2 separate regions of the Homo sapiens genome follow, and region 2 is linked to region 1. The links are contacts of gene promoters, found by promoter capture Hi-C in human tissues and cell types (Jung and others, 2019). All regions are on one chromosome and are shown on one strand. The core of a region is centred on a gene start or on the middle of the fragment in contact, and the rest is flanking DNA. Distances in the headings are between cores, read along the strand shown. Region 1 holds the start of LRRC8D (leucine rich repeat containing 8 VRAC subunit D). Region 2 overlaps LRRC8C (leucine rich repeat containing 8 VRAC subunit C).

Region 1 (7,219 bases), core at 4,252-6,751:
TGCCTGTAATCCCAGCACTTTGGGAGGCCGAGGCGGGCGGATCATGAGGTCAGGAGATCGAGACCATGGTGAAACCCCATCTCTACTAAAAATACAAAAAATTAGCTGTGTGCAGTGGCGGGTGCCTGTAGTCCCAGCTACTCGGGAGGCTGAGGCAGGAGAATGGCGTGAACCCGGGAGGCGGAGCTTGCAGTGAGCTGAGATCGCGCCACTGCACTCCAGCCTGGGCGACAGAGCGAGACTCCGTCTAAAAAAATAAAATAAAATAAAATAAAATAAAATAAAATTTAAGGGTTGATCCCTTCCAGCTATAATATTCTTTCTATTCAAAGTGACACAACTGCATCCTTAATTCTAAGACTCCAACTTCGACACAGCCTTTGACAATATAAAAGGACAGCAACACTTTTCCCCTCAAGAAATTTCAAATATTCAAAAGGCATCCCTTCTTTTCATTGGAATATCCTTCATCTCCAGAGGATATAAAGAGGTTGCCCACGTGGACTGGTAAAGAAGGGAAACCAAGTAGACTGCACCATCTGGACAGCCAACACACTAACAAAGGATTGGGGCACAATGGACACTCATCACAAAGAGGTGACACACATTTGGCCATGAGATTTGAAATTTTCCTCTAGCTCTCCTTCAACACTGTGAGACAGCTACCACCCAAATCAAGTAATTTATTAAATCTAGTTCACTGGATAGATCTAGAGTATTTGGAGAACTTGGCACTAAGGTACCTGGGATTTCTTACCTGCCAGCTTCAGAAGACATCTGGGAATGGTAATTTCCTAATGTCTTTGTAGTGAAGACTGTAAAATTCAAGTTAAGTATGAACTTACATCAACGGCAAGTTAAAGCCAAGCTCTGAGAAAAAGGTTTGCTTCTAAACCTCAATCCTCTCTCCTTCTCTAAATATAAGGCTGTCACTAAATATTTGAGGCATATTAGCAAAAAAGAAAACAAAGCTTAGCCTGAGTGGGAAACAAGTCCATAGTTGATTTTTGCCAGTTATCCTATCTTCTCACAAATTTCAAAAGCAACTCTAACCCTGCAAGCTTCAGATTTGCACAAAACATTAGAAACTCTCTTCCAGATACATAAACAGAACTACAAAGACCCAGAGGAAGGAATTCAGATTTCAGAAGCTTGCAACAGACTTGAACAATTTCAAAATGGTACCCCAGGTGCAAACATTTCAAGAGCTAAATGCCATGTGGCCTGGCATTTAAATTTCTCAGAAGCCCCCAAAATAAGGGCTAATTAGCCCTAGAACTCACCTCCATCACTCAGTGATCTCAGCTCTCATATAGGACCAATAGAGCCCCCAAACTACTGAGTTTTACATAGTACTGACTACAGTTTTCAACAAAGTCATCCTCCATTCCTCTCTGATATAATTAGAAGACATAAATTCAAAAATGTCAAAGGCTAGAAGACTGGATCAAAATAAATAGGATAACATTGAGAAGGAACAACAACAACAAAAAAAACTTCTCCAAAAAAATCTGCCCAAGAAATACAGGATGCAGCAGCTCACAGAGCAAATATCTGGGGGTTTTGACTATCCAAAACATGATTATCTAATAAAGAAGTTTGTGCTCGGCACTGCCTAAGAAAATCATAGGCAGTTGTAAGCTTAAGGTGCAGTAAGTAGACATTTATGCTTAGGTCTCAGCAAACAGCTGTCTTACTGTACTCTCTGTTGGCCAGATCACATCTCAATTACATATTCAATTCCAGATTCTCCATGTGAGATGCCGATAAACTGAGAAGACATCGAGAAACCACATCCCAATAAAAGACTGTGAAAAGAATTGGGACTAGTTTGCATTAGCAAAGTCAACTGGGGGTAAGGGGACATCATATTGTCTTGGTGCATTCAAAGAGAGTAGGCAGCTCCAAAAGAAGAAAATCATTGGAAAAAAAAATTCAAGGAGACAGTCTTCAGCTCAAGTAAAAATACAACAAACAGTCCAAAGGTGTAATAACCTGTCTTCAGGAGAAGTTCACGGTTCCTGGGGTTAAACAAAAGTTACCTAGAAAGGGTAAGAATTTACTAAAATAAATAAATTGGATAGGGCCCCTCTAAAATGCCAATTCTGATTTCAATGATTCCCAACTTACTCCACTATCATACTGTGCTCATCTGCTATGATCTCCCTCCAAACTGCCCCTTTCTTTCAATAAGGATTTGCCCAGACCCTAATCACATCAGACCTGAGCACAAGTCTCCTACATCAGCTTCCTAAGCTCAATGTTATTACTCCTCCCATGTCAAGAACCACCTCCCTTCAAGACCTATTCTGAGATCTAAGGGCAGGCACTATCGCCATTTTGGACAGGATCATTCTTTGTTTAGGAGGAAGGGGGTTGATGTCCTGTGCACAGTAGGATGCTTATGTATCATCCCTGTCCTCTAGCCACTAGATGACAGCAGCACCTGCCACCTCGCTATGATAACCATAAATGTCTCCGACATTCCTCAATGTCTGCTGAGAAGCAAAATTGCCTACTTCTGAGAGCCACTGGTCTTGAGGCAAATGATTAACACCACTGACTTGTGGTTAAGTTTTTCACGAACTAGGTTCCCTCTACCCTCCTTTATTAGTCGTATATTCTGTTCCACATCCCTGACCACTGTCAAAAGTCAATTCAGATTTCCACTCCTCCCTCAGCATACTTCATAAACTTTTATCTGGTTCCACACACCCTGGATTCTTAGACAACTGTAACTGTCTGCTTCTGCTGGCATCCTCATGTGTGCCTGTCTTATCTGCTCTCTGTGATTACTACGAGAATCCTCTCCTGCCTTGTTAAGATCCCACAGCACCCACTCCAGTTCTCTGCTTCCTGCTGGCACTCAACAAATATTAACTGGTGTTTCTTAGAATGTCAAACACCAGCTCCAATTAAAAATAACTGAAATCTCTTACAAGCTACCACTTCAACAACATAATAATCATGATTACAAAGTTTTGACAAACTTTTGACTTTAATAGCTATTTTGTCTACAGTACTGAGAACAGAATCGAGTCTAATTTCCAAACTATAGCTACCAAAACAATTTAACTATTTGGACATGACAAACACATCAGAATTTTCTAAAATTAATTTTTAAAAATGCTGCATAATATAAAAATTAAGGGAAAAGGGGCCTAGTTTTTTTCTTTTTTCTTTCCATTAAACTTTAGCGATTTTGAGAAAAAAAGGGCCAAGTTTTGACCATGTTTTTTAAATGCTGGAAAACACAGCAGGGAGAAAATGATATGAATATGGCTCAATACTTTAAGTGTTGCATCATATGCTACTCCACATGGTAATGGAAGGCTGGGTCATCTAAGGACAGTTTCCTCTCCAACCTTCTAATCTGTTAGGTTTTAATCAACACGCACACATACACTCTCAATAAAAACGAGACAAATCTAACATAGTGTTCAAATATATAAATAAACTGTGCCAATTCAAGATTTTGGAATTTTTCCCTGGCTCCATAGATTACCTAATCATTTTATGGGGGGCTCCATAAGTAACCTACAGAGACCAAACACCCCAAATCAACTTTTCGTGACCCCTGTTTTAACCACCTAATTTTCATCTCAGATTCCTCCCCATCTTGCACTTGGATTTTAACAGGGATTTAGTTAGTTGGTGTCAAGACAGATGAAGCAAGAACCCCAACTCTCGCCTAGCTGACAGTAGGTGTTTGGTCACTATTTTTGGACTGCAAAAATAAATGCTGCCTGAGGACCCCATTTACAGGATATGGTGCAGGGTTCTTCCCACAGGTCTGTAAGAAGCAGAGGTCCCAGATGCTATGGCGAGGAAGGTCTGATCACTCTCATTCTTGGCACTGGGAGGGGCCCCTTATTTGTTTATAAGGTAGACAGCCCTCATCATTACTGCAAACGGGGATTCCCTGCCTGTCCAGACTCTTCCAAAGTCCGGTACAAACCACGTAATAGGTGCTCAATAAACGCTGCCTGTACGGAATTTTACTATCAAAGCTGCCAAGGAAAGTTTCCAGAAATCAGCTCTTCCAAAATATGTCCTCAGAGTTTTCTTTGTCCAACAAAAAAATATTTTTGAAGATCCAAGAGCAGGAAATCTGCGAGGCAACGAGGAGCCAAATATAAGCCAAGCGGCTCCAGCTGGGCCCCACATTCCGCTAGGACTCCCCAGTACCTATTCCCCATCTCTCCGCCTACATCCTGAGTGCGCCCTCCCTCTCATCTCGGCTGTTTCCTTCCCACAACCCTACCTCCATACTTTCGGCCACACACACCCCAAGTGCGTGCTCCTGGAACCTCACAGCCCACCTCTCCCTCTCCAGCAAGGACCTACCTCTCTTCCCCTCGACCTGCAGCAGTTCTTCTTCACTGCAGCTGGCTTTTTAAGAAATCAAAAAATCTCATTTATCTGCAAGGGATACCCCCTAGTAAAGGGTGACGGAAAGGAGAAGGCCCCTATCAACCCTCCAGTAACTGGAGGTGCTGGTCCTCCCGGCAACCACCCCCAATTCTCCTCCTTTTCAAGCCCCTGGACAGGATTTGAGCAGAAGTCCCGCTCCCAAGAGCCCACGCCTCCAAACAAGCTAGAAGCGGATTATACCGGTACCCAACCCGGAGACGGCCCGCGGACGGCTGGGTGCACCTGCGGGCCCCCAGCTCCCTCCCACAGGCGCGGGGGGCGGGGCGCGGGCCTTCACCTCCCCGCCCCCGCCCGCCGGGCTCCCAGCGCAGCCCACCCTGCACAGGAAGGAAGCGGAGGGGAGGCGATTCTGGAGAAGTTAAAGGGCTCACCTTTGGACGCCGGGCCAGCAAGGCCAGACACCAAACACCCACCTCCGGGAGGAACCAGCAGAGCCGAAACCGGCTCTCCCCGCCTTTCCGATAGGGCGGAGGGAGGTGAGAGAAGGGAGCGCGCGCGAGGGGTTCAGGAGCCAGGAAGCCGCACTCCCCTCCCGCAGGGCCGGCCGCCCGGGGCCGAAGCGGCCGACGCTCAGACTGCAGAAAGCGGAACAATCTCCCAGGCCCTGGCGGCAGCAAACGGGAGCCCACTCCGCTCGCCGCCACCTCCTCCCGACCCCCGGACGTCCCCGAATGAGTTCCCGGCCGCAACCGCAGCTCGGGCCGCGGCGCCTGCGCCAGGGTTGCGCGCTCCGGCTCGGCGCGGCTCCACCTGCGCGTCGCCTTCCCTCGCAGCCCCCGGCCCCTGCCGGGAGAGGTGCGCACCAACCTTGGGGTGCAGCTCGGCCGCCAAGCCACGGCTTATGCTGAGGCCGGAGGTGGCGGCATCACCCGCGGCGGGCGGCGGCTGCACCGGGACGCGCCGGGGCGGCGAAGGCGCGCTGCACCCTGGACCCTGCTCCCGCGGCCCCGCCCGCGGCTGCCACCTCGAAGCGCGGCGGAGGAGCCGGGGCACCACGGGCGGCGGCAGCGGCAGCGGCAGCAGCGGCGACGGGAGCAGCAGCACATGACTCTGTAACGAGGGGAATTAGACAAAGCGTAACATGGACTCCGGGCCCGTGCAGGCGCTGCAGCTCTGGGACCAACCGCAGCCGGCGAGTGCCGCGACTGGCCCGGCCGCAGCCAATGGGGCGGGCCCGGGCCTCCATGTGATTGCGAGCGCTTTCTCCGGTGGCCCTGCAGCGCCTGACCGGACGGGGTCTGTGTGGCGAGGGAGGGGACCCGGGGTTGGAGACTGGCGGCGAGCGACTGCTAGATGCGGAGCAGGTGCTTGGGAGGGGAAGAACGGCAGCCTACATAACCATCGCCGTAATGCTCTCGCAAGCGTCCACCTGGGCAGGGCTCGGTGCCGGGCAGGCGCAGCTGCCAGTTAGCTGCGAGGCATGGTCAGGAGCCTTCACCCGTCCTGGGCGAAGGAGGCTGTCCCGTCGACTAAAACTCTGATATTAAGACTTGGCGCTGGGGGTGGGGAGTTGAATTACGTTAAAAAGTCACTTAAGTGCCTTCCAACTCTAAGGAGAAGTACTTATCTGAGCTTTGGGGCACACACAACTACTACTTGGCATGGAGAGTTTCTCAGCTTCATGTGTTCCGTCTGTTATTGAAGCTGTATTGGAAAGTCGGTTCTTGTTTTTATCTGAGCCCGCCGTTTTCATCCCATTCTTTTCGTCAAAAATATGTTACATCTGAAAGAGGCAGATGAAAAGATTATTCTATGCTAAGAGGGTTTTGCAGCCCGATAATGTCACCGTTTTTTGTTGTTGTTGTTGTAGGATCGGGGTTCATTTGCAGTCTTTTTTGTGGGTGAGCAGAGGCAGGGGCCAATAAATAAATTAAGGCGGGATATTTGGAGTTATTTGGTTGTAATAAAATATGTGGTTCAACCCAGTGCTTTCATATCTTCTTTTATCTGAATCCATGTGTTTCTGTAAACCATCGGAAGTCTAATCTGTCTTCTACCAATATCTCTCCATGTCAGCAAATGTTCAATCAACGTTTACCCAGCATCTAAATATTCTTAATAAGCATGCTGCACAAATGTTACAGGTACTCAGGAAGGTGTCGGTTCAGAGACAGTGAGACATTAAAGAGAATGATTGTCCAGGGTTTCAGAAAAGGATTCAGAGAGGAGCTGATAGAATTGACCCTTGGATGGTGAGCACTTGGCCCTCAGGCATTGGACGTGAAGAAGAGCAGCCCAAACAGGAACATGAACAGAGAGGTCCAGAATACACTCAAGGGACTGCCCGAGACCCGTTACAAGATGCCACCAGATTCTGAGCCCTCGGCCCTTTTGCTCTCACTTTCCTTCCCCGACCCTCCTTGCCAGCAGCCACTCCTGTTCCACACACTGCCAAGAAGGAGGTGTATGGGCAGGGAGTGTGTGTAAGTGATCTAATCAGTGTCAGATTTGCTGATCTAAGAGATGAGAGGTCTTTTAAAACTTAACAACTAGTGGTGTGATATTTTTATTGAAAACAGCCCACTATTATAATGAATATGGAATGTTTTGCTGTTTGTAAAAAAAAAAAAAAATTATAGGCCGGGTGCAGTGGCTCACGCCTGTAGTCCCGGTACCTTGGGAGGCCGAGGCAAGAGGATCACGAGGTCAGGAGTTAGAGACCAGCCTGACCAACATGGTGAAAACCCGTCTCTACTAAAGACACAAAAATTATCTGGGCATGTTGGCACGCACCTGTAATCCAAGCTACTCAGGAGCCTGAGGCAGGAGAATCGCTTGAACCTGG
Region 2 (7,261 bases), core at 2,338-4,837, 160 kb after region 1:
GAGTGAGAGGCTACAGAAAGTAGGTTTAGGGAGTGGGGAATAAGGAGTTTGGATAGAGACATCTGAAATCTGAGATGTCTACTAGACACCCAAGTGGAGGGGCTCCACAAACAGCTGGATACACTGGACTAGAGATAGGAAAGATCTGGGATAGAGATAGAAGTTTGGGAGTCATTAGGGTTATAAAAAGTGATAGGATGAAACCACCTAGGCAGCATATAGAGAGGAGAAAACGGTCTAAGGACTTCCTGCAGCAAGGAGCATTCTGCCACCAGATATTGGCATGAATATTGTTTTCTCACTTCCTTCAGGTCTCTGCACATATATCATTATTGGAGACACCTTTTCTGGCTACCCTATTGAAAATATTAATACCAACTCACCAAAAGCAAGAGCATGCCATCCCAGCACTCCCTTTTTCATTCCCTAAGTTGCTTTCCTCAATAGCATTATCTTTATCAGATGTACTATACGGGTATTACTCATTTAGTTATACTTCTATCTCTCTGCTGCATCATAAGGTAAGCTCCCTAAGAAATGGGGACTTTGTTTTGTTCACTCCTGTCTCCCAGAGCCTAGAACAGTATCTGGCACATAAAAGGTACTCAATAAGTAATTGCTGAACCAATGAAATGAGAAATGAGCATCTACTTAACCTGAAATTCTTCCAGTTATTAAAATGAATAACAGAAATGTTTATGTGACTAACAGAAATTAGAGTAAGGTGCACTTGGTTTTGGGGAAGAGAACACCAGATTTCTTTTGTACTACTCTGCATTTTCTCATGATACCTGCACCCTGTTTAGGGGCAAAGAGGAAGCAAAGAAGTCAAAGAGGCCACCTGAGAGATCTGCATGGAGCTGGAAAAGGACAATTCTATCTTATTTAGAGAGTTGGGAGAAGGAACAAAGGAGAGGAGTGGGACAAGAACTGTCCTGGGCCTCATTTGTTTTGAATCATGGGCTTCTTTATATATATATATTTTTGTTAAAGTTCTAGTGTACATGTGCACAAGGTGCAGGTTTGTTACATATGTATACGTGTGCCATGTTGGTGTGCTGCACCCGTTAACTCGTCTCCTTTATATTATTAACAGTATCATGTTTTTTCCTCTACTCACATTGCCGGCCTCTGTCAACTTCCAGGGACCTACCATGGAATAAGGTAAAGACTGCAAGAAGGGAATGTACATGTTTATTAAGCAACAGCAGTGCAATAGCAATCATTGATCATTTGGGTCAAAATGCAGTCATATGTTGCTTAATAATGGGGATACGTTCTGAGAAACGCATCATTAGGCAATTTTGTCGTGTGGATGTCATAGAGTGTACTTATACAATCCTAGACGGTATAGCCTACTACGCACTTTGGCTATAGGGTTTGGCCTCTTGCTCCTAGGCTATAAATCTGTACAGCATTTTCCTGTACTGAATCCTGTAGGTAACTGCAACATAATAGTAAGTATTTGTGTATCGAAACATAGGAAAGGTAAAATAAAAATGTATAAAAGATTAAAAATAGTACACCTGTATAGGGTACTTACCATGAATGGAGTTTGCAGGACTGGAAGTTGCTCTGGATGGGTCAGCAAGTGAGTGATGAGTGAATGTGAGGGCCTAGGATGTTACTTTGCACTGCCGTAGACTTTATAATAAACACTGTACACCTAGGCTACACTAAATTTATAAAAAAAATTTTTCTTTCTTCAACAATAAGCTGTAGGTTACTGCAACTTTTTTGCTTTTTAAACTTTAAACATTCTTTATAACTTTTTGATGCTTTCATAATAACATTTGGCTTAAAACACAAACACATTTTATAGCTGCGCAAAAATATATTTTATTCCTTATTCAATAAGTTTTTTGCTATTAAATTATTATATTTTGCTTTTTAAATTTTTTAACTAAAAACGAAGACGCCAACATGTATATTAACCTAGGCCTACACATACACAAATCAATAAACATAATCCATCACATAAACAGAACCAATGACAAAAACCACATGATTATCTCAATAGATGCAGAAAAGGCCTTCAACAAAATTCAACACCCTTTCATGCTAAAAACTCTCAATAAACTAGGTATTAATGGAATGTATCTCAAAATAATAAGAGCTATTTATGACAAACCCACAGCCAATATCATAATGAACGGGCAAAAGCTGGAAGCATTCCCTTTGAAAACTGGCACAAGACAAGGATACCCTCTCTCACCACTCCTATTCAACGTAGTATCGGAAGTTCTGGCCAGGGCAATCAGGCAAGAGAAAGAAATAAAGGATATTCAAATAGGAAGAGAGGAAGTCAAATTGTCTCTGTTTGCAGATGACATGATTGTATATTTAGAAAACCCCATCATCATCTCCTTAAGCTGATAAGCAACTTCAGCAAAGTCTCAGGATACAAAATCAATGTGTAAAAATCACAAGCATTCCTATACAGCAATAATAGACAAACAGCCAAATCATGAGTGAAATCCCATTCACAATTACTACAAAGAGAATAAAATACCTAGGAACACAACTTGCAAGGGATGTGAAGGATCTCTTCAAGGAGAACTACAAACCACTGCTCAAGGAAATAAGAGAGAACACAAACAAATGGAAAAACATTCCATGCTCATGGATAGAAAGAATCAATATCGTGAAAATGGCCATACTGCCCAAAGTAATTTTATAGATTCAATGCTATCACTGTCAAGCTACCATTGACTTTCTTCACGTAATTAGAAAAAACTGCTTTAAATTTCATATGGAACCAAAAAAGAGCTCACATAGCCAAGACAATCCTTAGCAAAAAGAACAAAGCTGGAGGCATCACACTACCTGACTTCAAACTATACTACAAGGCTACAGTAATCAAAACAGCATGGTACTGGTACCAAAACACAAATATAGACCAATGGAACAGAATAGAGGCCTCAGAAATACCACCACACCTCTACAACCATCTGATCTTTGACAAACCTGACAAAAATAAGAAATGGGGAAAGGGTTCCCTATTTAGTAAATGATGTTGGGAAAACTGGCTAGCCGTATGCAGAAAACTGAAACTGCACCCCTTCCTTACACATTATACAAAAATTAACTCAAGATAGATTAAAGACTTAACTGTAAGACATAAAACCATAAAAACCCTAGAAGAAAATCTAGACAATACCATTCAGGACATAGGCATGGGCAAAGACTTCATGACTAAAACACCAAAAGCAATGGCAACAAAAGCCAAAATTGACAAATGGGATATAATTAAACTAAAGAGCTTTTGCACAGCAAAAAACAAACAAACAAACAAACAAAACTGTTATCAGGGTGAACAGGCAACCTACAGAATGGGAGAAATTTTTTGCAATCTATTCATCTGACAAAGGGCTAATATCCAGAATCTACAAAGAACTTAAACAAGTTTACAAGAAAAAAATCAACACCATCAAAAAGTGGGCAGAGGATATGAACAGACACTTCTTAAACGAAGACATTTATGCAGCCAACAAACATGAAAAAAAGCTCATCATCACTGGTCATCAGAGAAATGCAAATAAAAACCACAATGAGATACCATCTCACACCAGTTAGAATGGCGATCATTAAAAGTCAGGAAACAACAGATGCTGGAGAGGATGTGGAGAAACAGGAACGCTTTTACACTGTTGGTGGGAGTGTAAATTAGTTCAACCATTGTGGAAGACAGTGTGACAATTCCTCAAGGATCTGGAACTGGAAACACCATTTGACCCAGCAATCCCATTACTGGGTCTATGCCCAAAGGATTATAAATCATTCTACTATAAAGACACATGCACATGTATTTTTTTTTTTTTTTTTGAGACAGAGTCTCGCTCTGTCGCCCAGGCTGGAGTGCAGTGGCGCAATCTCGGCTCACTGCAAGCTCTGCCTCCCGGGTTCACACCATTCTCCTGCCTCAGCCTCCCGAGTAGCTAGGACTACAGGTGCTGGCCACCAAGCCCGGCTAATTTTTTGTATTTTTAGTAGAGGTGGGGTTTCACTGTGTTAGCCAGGATGGTCTCGATCTCCTGACCTCATGATCCGCCCGCCTCTGCCTCCCAAAGTGCTGGGATTACAGGCATGAGCCACCGCGTCCGGCCACATGTGTGTTTATTGCAGCACTCTTCACAATAGCAAAGACTTAGAACCAACCCAAATGCCCATCAATGATAGACTGGATAAAGAAAATGTGGCACATATACACCATGGAATACTATGTAGCCATAAAAAAGGCTGAGTTCATGTCCTTTGCAGGGACATGGATGAAGCTAGAAACCATAATTCTCAGCAAACTAACACAAGAACAGAAAACCAAACACTGCATGTTCTCACTCATAAGTGGGAGTTGAACAATGAGAACACATGGACACAGGGAGGGGAACATCACACACTGGGACCTGTCAGGGGATGGGAGGCTGGGGAAGGGATAGCATTAGGAGAAATACCCAATGTAGACGACGGGTTGATGGGCACAGCAAAGCACCATGGCACGTGTATACCTATGTAACAAACCTGCAGGTTCTGCACACGTATCCCAGAACTTAAAGTATAATAATTAAAAAAAAGAAACATAGGAAAATAATATCTACCCCATGGCGGGGGCTGAAAACACAATACTAAATTTGTGGTATTCAAGAGTCAGACAGTTAACCTTTTGCTATAACTAGCATTATTCAGGTCCCTTACTGGAGTTTAGGGCTCTATTTTAAGAGGAATATCAAAAAATATTACATAGACATAAGGGCAAAAAGTTTTACCTACAAAAATATATTCAGATTCCAACGATTTCTGACCCATCTTAGCTGCTACCCCGATCCAAGCCACCATCATCTCTCAATTAGATTATTGCAAGATTATTGCAATATCTTCCTGATTAGTCTCTCCACTTCTACCAATGACCCCTAGAGAGTCATCTCAAGTGAGCAACCAGAATGATCCTGGGTTTCTTCTCCATTCAAAATCCTCTAATAATTCTCCATCTCACTCTGTGAAAAAGCGAAAATCTTTACAAAAGTCCTAAAAGGCCCTCTGCAATCTCACTCCCACCCCACACCAGTCTCATAGCCCTCTCCTGCACACTCGCTTTGCTCCAGCCACACTGGGCCTTCTAGCACAAGCTTGTCCAATCTGTGGCCTGCAGACCACTTGTGGCCCAGGATGGCTTTGAATATGACCCAACAGAAATTTGCAAGCTTTCCTTTCCTAAAACATTATGAGATTTTGTGATTTTTTTTCTTTTAGCTCATCAGCTATCATTAATGTATTTTATGTGTGGCCCAAGACAATTCTTCTTCTTCAAGTGTGTCCCAGGGAGGCCAAAAGATCGGATGCCCCTGTTAGAGTGGTTTCTTGGCACCCCAGGTTCACTCCTGCTTTTGCATTTGCAACAGCTCTGTCTGGAATTCTCATCTTCCTGGTATCTGCAGGGCTCAATCCTTCACCTTCTTTAGGCCTTGCTGAAATTTACCCAGATTGCAACCACTTTTCACCATTTCTATCACTACTCCTCTGGTCCAAGCCTTCACCCTCCTCTTGTTTAGATAATACTGCAAAGCCAATTTAATATCACACCATATCTCAGCCATAGCACTCCCTTTCCTCCTGCCCTGCCTTATTTTTCTCCATAGCACTTAACACCTTTGAACATACTATATATATTTTAGCTAATTATGCATTTCCTTTTCTCTCTCCTCCCACTTGAATGCAAGTCCCAGGAGGGCAGAAATTTTTGCCCAATTTGCAAAATGTTTTGTCCCTAATGCCCAGAAGAGTGTCTGGCCCATATTTGTCATTCACCAGATATCTGTTAATTAGAAGAGTAAAGTGGTAGAAACAGAACCTATCAAGAAACACTATGGAGATACTACTTAGGCCAGAGCCTGGTGGCTAGGCTGGTTCTCTCCTTTCCAATCGGAGGCCTCTTCAGCAAACATGCTCCACCACATCATCACTCAGTCCAAGAAGCATCTAAGCTTGATCTCCCTCTTTGTATTCATTGGAGCTGGAGGTACTGGAGCAGCACTGTATCTCGTGTCTGGCATTGTTCAATCCAGATGTTAGTTGGGACAGAAAGAATAATCCAGAGCCCTGGAACAAACTGGCTCCCAATGATCAATACAAGTTCTACTCAGTAATTGTGGATTACAGCAAACTGAAGAAAGAAGGTCCAGATTTCTAACAAATGTTTCACTATAAAGCTGCTTTAGAATGAAGGTCTTCCAGAAGCCATCCACACAATTTTCCGCTTAACCAGGAAATACTTCTCCTCTAAATGCATGAAATCATGTTGATGTAATCTATTGGCGATTGCACTGATTAGTAAATAACTGAAACTTGGAAAACAAAACAAAACAAAAAGAAACACTATGTAAATTGAGACAAGCAAAGGAATACAAAAGGCTACCAGAGGAGTCCAGAGCCTGGATGTCCATGGATAGACTTCAGTGCCAAATACAAAATGTTTCAACTTTGCACATTACAGGCTTTAAACTGCTGCATGAGAGATTTAGGAAGAAACAACCCATTGTTAAATGACCAAATAAATGGTTACAGGACGAAATCTGAGGGTTGGTCATGCCAAGGAGATGTGAAAAATAGGACAGTGAATCATGTTTTGATGGTGAGCTTGCTGTCTGGAGGCAGGGTGCTGGATGAGAAAGGTTCTTTTGCTCCACTAGGAGCTTAAGATGAGTATTTCTCCAGGAGCCAACATTACTTACTGAAATGCAGAAAGTGCACATGTTTTCAAAGGGAAAACACATGGACTGGTATTAAATTAATAACTTCTGATTGGAAAACTTGTTGACAGAATTTGGCTGAGCTAGTCTCCTGAAATTTATTAGGGAACATCTGGGGGGAAATAAAACCTAGGATAGGGAGGAAGAGTGGCTCTCAACCTTGGCTGCACATTGGAATCATCTGGAGAGTTTTAAAAACACTGATGCCTGGGTGCAGTTAAATCAGAACCGCTGGGGTGGGGCCCAGGCATGAGGTTTTTGTTTTGTTTTGTTTTAGAGGTCCTCAAGTGATTCCAACATGTAGGTGAGGTTGAGACCTATTCTCCCCAAAACATCTGTTTCTTCTGTTTGTGATAAAAAGTACAGCTACGCACTAAGTGAGGTCTTAGGGAAAAACCAGAGCTTTATCTGGGCCTATCAAAGGCAGGGTTTACTCACTTAAAATGATTTCAGTACTCCATGAATTTATATTTTAATATCACATCTTTGGTTAATACTTACCTGGACACCACCCATTC

What was found. The method cuts DNA at HindIII sites, captures the fragments that hold promoters and counts their contacts. A contact is called where the count stands out against the background at its distance.
Region 2: a contact is called between a fragment that was not itself captured here and the fragment with the promoter of LRRC8D in region 1, in 1 of the 25 tissues and cell types used here (hippocampus).

Annotation. Positions count from the first base shown.
Region 1 is chr1:89,819,314-89,826,532 of GRCh38, reverse strand. It overlaps LRRC8D (leucine rich repeat containing 8 VRAC subunit D), which reads right to left and starts at 5,501. Exons shown (of 3, transcript NM_001134479.2): 1 at 5,242-5,501. It overlaps LRRC8D-DT (LRRC8D divergent transcript), which reads left to right and starts at 4,739. Exons shown (of 1, transcript NR_185885.1): 1 at 4,739-6,359. RefSeq lists an enhancer at 1-89 and silencers at 4,532-4,751, 4,623-4,832, 4,923-5,022, 5,123-5,472, 5,913-5,972. The HindIII fragment of the contact is 15,684 bases long and covers 1,397-7,219 here.
Region 2 is chr1:89,660,134-89,667,394 of GRCh38, reverse strand. All of the region lies in intron 1 of LRRC8C (leucine rich repeat containing 8 VRAC subunit C), which reads right to left. It also overlaps the pseudogene LOC100505788. Among named protein-coding and RNA genes, the nearest start is that of LRRC8C, 31 kb to the right of the region's middle. The HindIII fragment of the contact is 4,002 bases long and covers 1,587-5,588 here.